Linked DNA regions of Homo sapiens: region 2 is linked to region 1. Evidence: promoter capture Hi-C in human tissues and cell types (Jung and others, 2019). All regions are on one chromosome and are shown on one strand. Each heading gives the region's core, a stretch centred on a gene start or on the middle of the fragment in contact. The rest is flanking DNA. Distances are from core to core; before and after follow the strand shown. Region 1 holds the start of CHRNB3 (cholinergic receptor nicotinic beta 3 subunit). Region 2 overlaps SLC20A2 (solute carrier family 20 member 2).

Evidence for each region. Contacts are between HindIII fragments. The study calls those that stand out against the background at their distance.
Region 2: a fragment that was not itself captured here is called in contact with the fragment with the promoter of CHRNB3 in region 1 in 2 of the 25 tissues and cell types used here (hippocampus and pancreas).

Annotation. Positions count from the first base shown.
Region 1 is chr8:42,693,579-42,699,043 of GRCh38, forward strand. It overlaps CHRNB3 (cholinergic receptor nicotinic beta 3 subunit), which reads left to right and starts at 3,788. Exons shown (of 6, transcript NM_000749.5): 1 at 3,788-4,020. The coding sequence starts at 3,969. It overlaps LOC124900250 (a long non-coding RNA gene), which reads right to left and starts at 5,313. Exons shown (of 3, transcript XR_001745887.2): 1 at 5,234-5,313; 2 at 3,748-3,922; 3 at 2,920-2,997. The HindIII fragment of the contact is 12,880 bases long and covers 1-5,465 here.
Region 2 is chr8:42,431,351-42,436,380 of GRCh38, forward strand. The region is part of intron 8 of SLC20A2 (solute carrier family 20 member 2); the gene reads right to left. Among named protein-coding and RNA genes, the nearest start is that of VDAC3, 42 kb to the left of the region's middle. The HindIII fragment of the contact is 7,335 bases long and covers 1-5,030 here.

The sequences.
Region 1 (5,465 bases), core at 2,538-5,037:
GGTGAGGAGCAGGTAACTCACAAGTAAGCTTTTTATAGAGGAAAGACAGTTCCCTTAGACTTGTTTTTTTTTGTTTTTTGTTTTTGTTTTGTTTTGAGACAGAGTTTCGCTCTTGTCCCCCAGGCTGGAGTGCAAATGGCGCTATCTTGGCTCACTGCAACCTCCACCTCCCGGGTTCAAGCGATTCTCCTGCCTTAGCTTCCCAAGTAGCGTAGCTGGGATTACAGGCACGGGTTGCCACGCCCAGCTAAGTTTTGTATTTGTAATAGAGATAGGGTTTCACCATGTCGGCCAGGCTGGTCTCAAACTCCTGACCTCCTGTGATCTGCCTGCCTCGGCCTCCCAAAGTGCTGGGATTATAGGCGTGAGCCACCGTGCACAGCCAGGCTTCTTTTTTTCTCATCTAAACTCCTTGCTTTTTAATCTTTTCTCATAAGTCTTCCTTTCTAGATCCCGGGTCTCTCGATGTCCCCACAATAAACATATTTAACTTCCTAACTGTGTTGTCCTAAACAAAACAGTGCCCTAAGACGGCTCCAGACAGGCTGGGGTGCTGCTAGGAGTGCCATTCGTAGGGTGACCAAGTGACTGTCAGTATCATGTAGTTGTATTCTTTGCAGTTAAGGCAATTAATTAAATAAATACCTCAATGTGATTTTGTTTTTCTAACTGTAAAAAGATATAGAAATAAAATAATAAAGCAAAAAGACATTTTGTCCCAATTCACATAAATGTGGCCAAGAACTAAGCCAATCTATCTTACCAGCATGGGCCCAGCACCCCACACTTCTGAGGTCGCTGGGTATTGTGATTCTGTCCTGCATGGTAGATAAGCGGGTACGGTTTCACACTGGAAGGGACCTTGGCAATTGGGCTGGCTCTCTTATTTTTGTTATTTGCAAATCCACTAAGTGTATCTTCCATGCCTTCAAGATGTTAAATGTGTTAGATCCACGCAGCCCACCACTAAAGACCCTCTTCCAGGCTTGACATCCGTTTGTTAATCCACACCCTTGTTTACAGTTGCTTAATTAGTTCTGAGTCCCCTTACATGTACTACAGAACCAACCACAATGCTCCTTTTTGTCCCCTTAGAGGTCATGAAATAATTTCTCAAAGTTTCTCCTTTTCTCATCATTAATACCAAAATGTCCTTTTCTTTAAAAAATCTTTTGTCTTTCCTGCCTTAATAACCTTTTTAATGGTGTTGTTTTATATTCTAAAAAGTAAAAGTTATAAAAAGCTCAGTTGAAGGGTGTTGACTCATACATCAACTGGGTGACCACAATGCTATCATGCATGTTAGTGTGTGTGCTTGTGTGTGTGCACTGGAAGGAAGTAAAGCATTGATGGTGATTGGATTAGAATCATGGACTGTAAGTGGTCTTGAAATGTAGTATTAGGATTACACTGCTTTCATGATTACTAAATGCCAATCAGAACTTACATCTTCAATTGAAAGCACACCTGGCCGGGCTCGCACAGTGGCTCACACCTGTAATCCCAGCTCTTTGGGAGGATGAGGCAGTTGGATCACTGGAGGTTGGGAGTTCGAGACTAGCCTGGCCAATATGGTGAAACCCTGTTTCTACTAAAAATATAAAAATTACCTGCACGTGCTGGTGGACACCTGTAATCCCAGCTACTCAGGAGGCTGAGGCAGGAGAATTGCTTGAACCTGGGAGGTGAAGGTTGTAGTGAGGCGAGATTGCGCCACTGCACTCCAGCCTGGGCAACAGAGCAAGACAGCCTCTTTTCCTGTGTCTATTTGATGTCCGCTTTTCCCCCCAAAGTCTAAACTCAATGGAGAGATGATTTGAGGTTTCTACAGTGGGATGGTGAAGAGTTGAGTATCTTTGCAGGGAGAAAGGTGGCTGTAAAGTGAGACAGAAAAGAACTTCCCAAGGCATAGGAAGGGGCTGGCAGGTCCTTCTGGCAGCAGGACCGTGCCCTGCTCAGGGTTGCACTCAAGGGGTGCAGTCCTCAGCAGGCCAGGGTTGTGTGGGACCCAGGGAGGCAGGGTCCTGTTACCAAGGCCTCCGGTATTGGCAGAATCCTGGGTCTTGGCAGAATCCTTGGCATCGGAGAAGGCAAAGAGCAACCGAGCTGTTGGCTCCATGGGACCGTGTGGGTGGGGCATGGACCCCAGCTGTGGTCAAGGCAGCCTGGAGGATACAAGACTGTGCCATATTTTGGGGACCACAAAAGGCTTCCAGATTCAGTTGCTCCCCTAGGGAGAAGGCTGCAGGGCCTGCAATGACTGAGATTGGATTTCCAGCCAGTTCCATGGAAGGCTAGCTTCATTTTATTCAATTTCTTGAAAATAAAGGTGAAACTTCCTGCACACTTGGATTGGCGGTGGCTGATTTACTCCTGAGACCATTACAAATTCTCAGCAGGCTGGGAGCACAGTTGAGATGGATAGGAGGAAATCAGTGCATGGCTCCTTCCTTCCTCCTTGCATTCCCACAACGTTCTCAAGCATTTGCAGGTGTCAGGCCCTGGACACAGAGAGATACAGAGGAGACTCCAGAGGGCTGGAGACCAAGCCCTCCTGCAGGAGCTGGTGGTCTAGGAAGGGAGGCCAGGCAGGGCAGCGACATTGTGATGTGAGGGGCTCTGAGACAGGGGCCCTGAGGAACAGACAGGGCTCAAGAGCTCAGGGTCCCGGGGTCCTGGGCTAGACCTCTTTTCCACACATGATGCCTCCTTACCGAGCACCCTCTGGGTGTCTCAAACTCACTAATGGCACACAGAGGAGGGTTAAATTAAGAAATTTAAAAATTGGACTAAATCACTGCCGCTAAGACAGAATTCCTCCATGCCCTGGAGTGGGTTCCTCCAGCACTCAGTTCCCAACCAGATAGGTCTTGGCTCCCACCTGGCCCTCTTGTCTGTCTAGCCCTGACTTTGTACTTGCCATTCATTTGATGTATCATGCATTTATCAAGGGCCCTCTGGGTGTGCACAGCACTGAACTAGATGAAATCTGATCAACTGTGAAGAAGAAAGGATGGTGTTATTAGTGTCCAAGTCTCATACATAAAACACCACTAACCTCCCACCCTACTGTCCCCTGCAGTGACCAGAAGGTGGGCCTGGTGGGGTCAAGGGAGCCACAGAGAATGTGCTGATATTAACACATGTGGGAACCAGCAGAATAGGGAGGCTCCAGGACATACTCATGACTTCAGGTCCAACTGGAAAAGAGAATAGAGAGGCTGGGCGCAGTGGTTCATGCCTGTAATCCCACCACTTTGGGAGGCCAAGGCGGGCGGATCTCCTGAGGTCAGGAGTTCAAGACCAACCTGGCCAACATGGTGAAACCCTGTCTCTACAAAAATACAAAAATTAGCTGGGCATGATGGCAGGTGCCTATAATCCCAGCTACTCAGGAGGCTGAGGTGGGAGAATGGCTTGAACCTGGGAGACGGAGGTTGCAGTGAGCCGAGATTGCACCATTGCACTCCAGCCTGGGTGACAGAGTGAGACTCCATATCAAAAAAAAAAAAAAAAGAATAAAAAGAAAAAGAAAAGAGAATAGAGAAATAACGGGGATGAGAAACTTTTCACTATGGATGTGGTAAAGTGTGGTTCTTCTGTACGCAGATCTCCAACTGTAAGAAAAATAGCACAGAACATTCAGAAGTTGTCTAGTTTCATCCTTTCTCCAGTGCCCCGCATCTCTTGCAAGGGAGTAAATTAATAAGTCAGGAGTTAGGACCCAGAGATATGTTTTAGACTTACACGATCTGACAGCTGACTGCAAATCAATGAAGTGCACTTTGAGAAGCGGCACACTCGGCGAGAGGGGTTGAGATTGTTTTATTCCACTCCAGGTGTTGCTGTCCTCTTGGGTTCCACTTCGGATTTTGAACCCCTGTATTTTCTTTTCAAAACCCCCTTTTCCAGTGGAAATGCTCTGTTGTTAAAAAGGAAGAAACTGTCTTTCTGAAACTGACATCACGATGCTCCCAGATTTTATGCTGGTTCTCATCGTCCTTGGCATCCCTTCCTCAGGTAAGCACAAGTCACAGTAAATTAAAACTACAGTTGCAGAATTATTTAAGCAGAGGAGGCAAAACTATGGTGTTGATAATGTTAGAATTACAATATGTAATGCACAAGATACATTTAGGATAACCTTTAAAATGTGGCCCAAATGAGTAATTCTGTGAGATGTGGGGTTTTTTTTGCTGAAGAAATCATATCTATGATTTTCATAATGTTTATGTTTTTGTCATTTGCTGCGTTTCTCCTTCTGAATCACTATGAGCTTGGTAAGAAAATACAAAAGCAGGAAAAACATTATTGAATGCACTGAGCATTACTCAGAGAATTGTTCAAATATTTGGCACAGAAATTTACTATATCAACATTTTTCTATCATATTTACCAATAATTTCTATATCTGCATGTAGATATTTAATTTTGTCCAATATGCCCTGTAGGCCTATATATTTTAATAAATCTGTGTATGTAGGTAGATTTAGCATGTTTATATATCACAATTAAACACCAATGTATCAAAACTCTATGTGTTTTATGTGACTATTATCAACTGAAAATAGAGGAATTTTTGATAAGGATAAAGGACAAATAAAAGGAAAAAGTGAAAGATAGAGACAGAGATGCAGAGAAAGAACAAAAAGAGAAAAAGAAAGGGGAATAAAGTACTGAAAGGCTTTGGGGATTGGTCATTTGCACCTGCCAATTTCCTGGGTTTGGGAATCTTTTCACTTTTTGTGTAACTTGAGAACAGAAAGTTTTCCCCCATTGAATCAGAAACCATCTGAAACCGCAGCCAGATGGTGAGAAAAGTGTCAGTTCACTAGCAATTTGTATTAATTTCTCAGTAGTATTTTTGCCACGTTTGATTATTGTAATTTTCAAATGGAGAACTGGAGACACTAAGGGAGATTTGCCCAAATCCAGAAATAAATTCTACATTTCAAGTTCCCAAGGCTGCGAGGCACCTGAACATTATCCTGTTGTCAAAAACGCCTTTTCTCAGACCAAGGACTCAAAGTCAAACAGGAATTTCTAAATGCAGAAAGCCTCAAACTCACTTTCAAATATCATGAAATTTGGACTTTTCAAAGTCTTGAATGCAGTTTGCCAATCACAAAAATGATAAGAAAATTCTGTGTGTTTGAGCTTACCATTAATGTACGTGTGTCTGATGTTTTTCTGTCTTTATTATTCTATTTATTATAAGACAATTGATTCTTACCACTCTTTTCCCAAGGAATGATTTCTCTCAATGGTTAGCGAGGGTGTTTAGCATAAACTCTCTTGGTTCAGCTAAGTCTCGTCCTCTGTGTACAATCATGATTACATAAGAAAACTGGAATTGCTTGGCCTCTGGCATTGGTCTCCATTGTGTGGGCTGGAAGAGTTTGGGAAGATTGTGTAATCTTTCACAGATCTATAATAAATCTAATAACCTGTGATAAATCTTACAT
Region 2 (5,030 bases), core at 251-2,750, 260 kb before region 1:
AATCCAGAGCAAGGCCCTAGTTCTCTTCAATTCTGTGAAGGCTGAGAGAAGTCAGGAAGCTAAAGAAAAGCTGGAAGCTAGCAGAGGTTGGTTCTGGAGGTTTAAGGAAAGAAGCCATCCTCATAGCATAAAAGTGCAAGGTGAAGTAGCAAGTGCTGATGGAGAAGCTGCAGCGAGTTCTCCAGAAGATCCATCTAAGATCACTGATGAAGGTGGCTACACTAACAATAGATTTTCAATGTAGAAGAACAGTCTTCTATTGGTAGAAGATGCCAGCTAGGACTTCCATAGCCAGAGAGAAGGCAATGCCTGGCTTCAAAGCTTCAAAGGACAGGCTGACTCTCTTCTCAGAGGCTAATGCAGCTGGTAACTTTAGTTGAAGCCAATGTTCACTTACCATTCCAAAACTCCTATTGCTCTTAGGAATGATGCTAAATCTACTCTGCCTGTGCTCTAGAAATGGAACAACAAAGCACATCTGTTTACAGCATGGTTTACTGAATATTTTAAGCCTACTGTTGAGACCTACTGCTCAGAAAAAAATATTAATATTTCAAAATATTACTGCTCATTGACAATGCACTTGGTCACCAGAGAGCTCTGACGGAGATATGCAAGGAGATGAATGTTGTTTTCCTGTCTGCAAACACAGCATCTGTTCTGCAGCCCATGGATCAAAGAGCAGTTTGACTTTCAAGTCTTATTACTTAAGAAATACACTTTGTAGGGCTAGAGCTGCCATAGATAGTGATTCCTCTGATGGGTCTAGGGAGTCCATTGAAACCTTCTGGAAAGGATCCCCCATTCCAGATGCCATTAGAACATTCGTGATTCATGGGAGGAAGTGCAAATACCAACATTAACAGGAGTTTGGAAGAAGCTGATTCCAACTCTCACAGATGACTTTGAGGGATTCAAAACTTAAATGAAGGAAGCCACTGCAGATGTGGTGGAAACAGCAAGAGAACTAGAAGTGGAGTCTGGCGATGTGACTGAACTACTGCAATCTCATGAAAGAACTTGAAAAGATGAGGAGGTGCTTCTTATGGATGAGCAAAGAAAGTTTCTTGAGATGAAATCTACTCCTGGTGAAGATGTTGTGAACATTGTTGAGATGACAACAAAGGATTTAGAATATTCCACAAACTCAGTTATCAGAGCAGAGGCTGGGTGTGAGGGGATTGACTCCAATTTTGAAAGAAATTCTACGGTGGGTAAAATGTTATCAAACTGCATTACATGCTGCAAAGAAATCTTTTGTGAAAGGAAGTTAATTGATGCGGCAAATTTCATTGTTGTCTTAATTTAAGAAATGGCCACAGCCACCCCAACCTTTAATCACCACCACCCTGATGAGTCAGCAGACATCAACATCAAGGCCCAGACCCTCCATCAGCAAAATAATGAATTGCTGAATGTTCACAGGATTGCTAGCATTATTTTTTAGCAATAAAGTATTTTCAAATTAAGGTATGTACATTGTTTTTAAGACGCATTTAATAGACTATGGTATACTATTACAGAAACATAACTTTTCTATGTACTGGGACACCAAAAACTTCATGGGTATTGTGAAACTTGTTTTATTGTAGTGGTCTGGAATGGAACCCACAGTGTCTCCCAGGTGTTCCTGTACATGGTGACTTTTGTCTTGAGCATAGCTCAACTTGGTGTATTTGAGGTTCACCTATATAATCTATTCATGGTCCAAATGATTTTTTTTTAATTTTGGTAAAAAGCATAACATAAAATTTACCATCGTAATCATTCTTATTTATAGTTCAGCAGTGTTAAGTATATTTACATTGTTGTGAAACAGATCTCCAGAACTTGTTCATCTTGCAAATGTGAAACTCTGCACTCTTTAAACAAATTCCCACTGCCCCTCCCCGCAGCTAATGGCAACCACCATCCTACTTTCTAGTTCTAGGAATTTGACTGCTGTAGACAGCTCATAGAAGTGGAATCATAGAGTATTTATCTTTTTTTTTGAGATGGAGTCTTGCTTGGTTGCCCAGGCTGGAGTGCAGTGACATGATCTCGGCTCACTGCAATATCCTCCACCTGGGTTCAAGCAATTCTCCTGCCTCAGCCTCCTGAGTAGCTGGGATTACAGGCACGTGCCACCACGCCTGGCTAATTTTTTGTATTTTTAGTACAGATGGGGTTTCACTGTGTTAGTCAGGATGGTCTTGATCTCCTGACCTCATGATCCGCCCGCCTCAGCCTCCCAAAGTGCTGGGATTACAGGCATGAGTAGTATTTATCTTTCTGTGATGGTTTATTTCACTTAGCCTAATGTCCTCCAGGTTCATCCATGTTACAGCAAGTGACAGGACTTCCTTCTTTTTAAAGGCTAAATAATATTCCAGTGTATGCATGGACATAATTTGTTTCCATTCACCTGGCAGTGGACATCTGGGTTGTTCTCCCCTCTTGCCTATTGCAAACGGCAGTGCTTTGAACATGTGGTACAAATATCTCTTTGAGACTCTGCTTTCAATTCTTCTGTATGTATACCCGGAAGCAGGAATGCTGGGTCATAGGGGAGGTCTGTTTAATTTTTTGAGGAGCCTCCATCCTGTTTTCCATAGTGGTTACACCATTTTACACCCCCACTAATGGTGCACAGGGTTACAATTTCTCTACATCCTTGACAACACTTGTTACTTTTTTTTTTAAGTGGTAGCCATCCTAATAGGTGTGTAATTTATTATTATTATTTTTGAGAGAGTCTCCCTCTGTTGCCCAGGCTGGAGTGCAGTGGCACAATCTCACCAGGCTGGAGTGCAGTGGTGTAATTTCGGCTCACTGCAACCTCCGCCTTCTGGGTTCAAGTGATTCTTGTGCCTCAGCTTCCTGAGTAGCTGGGACCACAAGTGCCCAGAAACAGGCCCAGCTAATTTTTGTATTTTTAGTAGAGGTGGGGTTTCACCATGTTGTCCAGGCTGGTCTTGAACGCCCGACCTCAGGTGATCCACCTGCCTCGGCCTCCCGAAGTGTTGAGATTATAGGCGTGAGCCACCACACCCGGCCTATTAAATGGATTATTTTTTTTTTTGAGACAGTCTCACTCTGTCGCCCAGGCTGGAGTGCAGTGGCATGGTCCCAGCTCACTGCAAGCTCTTGTCTCCTCCCCCAGCCAGCTGTGTAGACTGGGTATCACTGAGTCACTGAAACTGGATTCCAATTTGGCTTTGGTTTTGCTGTGTGGCCCTGAGCATCAGATCCCATCTCTGAGAGACACCCGCCCCTGGCTCAGAGGGATGTTAGAGACAGGGTGGGATAGGCCATGGCAGCTCAGTGCTGAGGCCTCGGGGCTCAACCTCGTGCTGAATGCATGGACGCCTCTTCTCACTCAGATGACTTCTAGAATGGTGCTTTCACCAGACGCTCTCCCTGCTCCAAAGCCCCAGAATAGTCCCCACGCTGCAAGCAACTCTTCGCAATTCTACAGTCACCCCGAGCAGCCACTGCCTAGATGCTTCCTTTGAAATGAAACATGGTGTGTGTGTGAATGTGCGTGAGTCCATGTGTGAGTGTGCGTGTGAGTGCGCATGTGAGTGTGTGTGCGTGTGTGTGTGCATCTGAGTGTGTGAATGTTAGAGAATGTGTTGTTACTTTTCCACGGATATGTTTTTCTCATCTCCCTAACTGGCGTTTAAACTTCTAATGGACGAGGACCCAGTTCCTAGCGCTCTGCCAGTACCAGGCCTTCTGGAAAGAATGCTTGATGAGGAGGAGGAAGTGGGACGGTGTGGGGGCAGACAAAAAGTTACTAACATAGGACAGAGCATGCTGTCTCCAAGAAAATACCAAATAAAATACCACAGAAATGCCCATATGATGCTGAGCAGAACATAAGATGCCCAGGTTCATCTGCAGCGAGACTTCTTTTACGAACAGCAGAGTTGCAGCTGCACGTGGGGAGGCAGTGTGCGTAGCCCATGGGGAGTCACTGACTGCGACAGAAGACGACAACGGCACAGTCCCCTGAAAGGTCAGTGGACTCACCATGACCGTGATGGCAAGAGCAGAAACGGACAGAAACCGAGCGAGTGGGGAGCACCATCCTGAGCATATTACACAGGGGAAGCCTGGGAGGTTAGGACTCGTTTTCCCCCATTTTACAGATTGGGAAACGGAGACTTCGGAAAAGCACATGCCTTGTCTAGGGGTTACACAGCTGTAAGACGACAGCAGAGACCCAAACTTGGGGCTCTCAGGCCCCAGGAGGCCGCCCTGCTTCCTACACACCAGGCCTGGGCGTGGGGTGGGGCAGGTGGGGTGGGTGGGGTCAAGGTTGGAGGGTCATATCTGCCCATCCCTACACACTCATTTGCAGGATGCCTGCGACATTACCATGTGGAGTGACCTGCAGGCTCGGGCGGCAGCTCCAGCGGCTGCATCGTGCAGTGGGGAGAACTAGGGCCCACGAGTGGGACGGAGCCTTCTCACTGGGGTTGAAGATGTCACTGAAGGATGGCCGGGTGTGGTGGCTCACACCTGTAATTCCAGCACTTTGGGAGGCTGAGGTGGGCGGATCACCTGAGGTCAGGAGTTTGAGACCAGCCTGGCCAACATGGGAAACCCCGTCTCTACTAGAAATAGAAAAATTAGCCGGGCCAGGTTGGGGAGCCTGTAATCCCAGCGGCTTGGGAAGGCTGAGACAAGAGAATCACTTGAACTTGGGAGAAGGAGGTTGCAGTGAGCTGAGATTGCGCCACTGCACTCCAGCCTGGGGAACAGAGCGAGACTCCGTCTTAAAAAAAAAAATTAAATCACCTCCTAGGAAGTTCTCCTAGCGTCCTGGTTCAGCATACCTTCTGGCTGTTTCCTCGGTCTGTGCACTCTGCCTCCTGCCTGCCTGCCTCACTGCCCCAGTGCTCCTCCACCCACGTTACCTGCTCTGCACCCAGCCCGGCCTGTCCTGAACTCGGGCGTACACGGCCGCTGCCTGCTCAACCTGAATAGCAGCATCGCGCCCTGGCTGCATCCAGGGCCTCCGTCATCCCTAACAGACAGCAGCT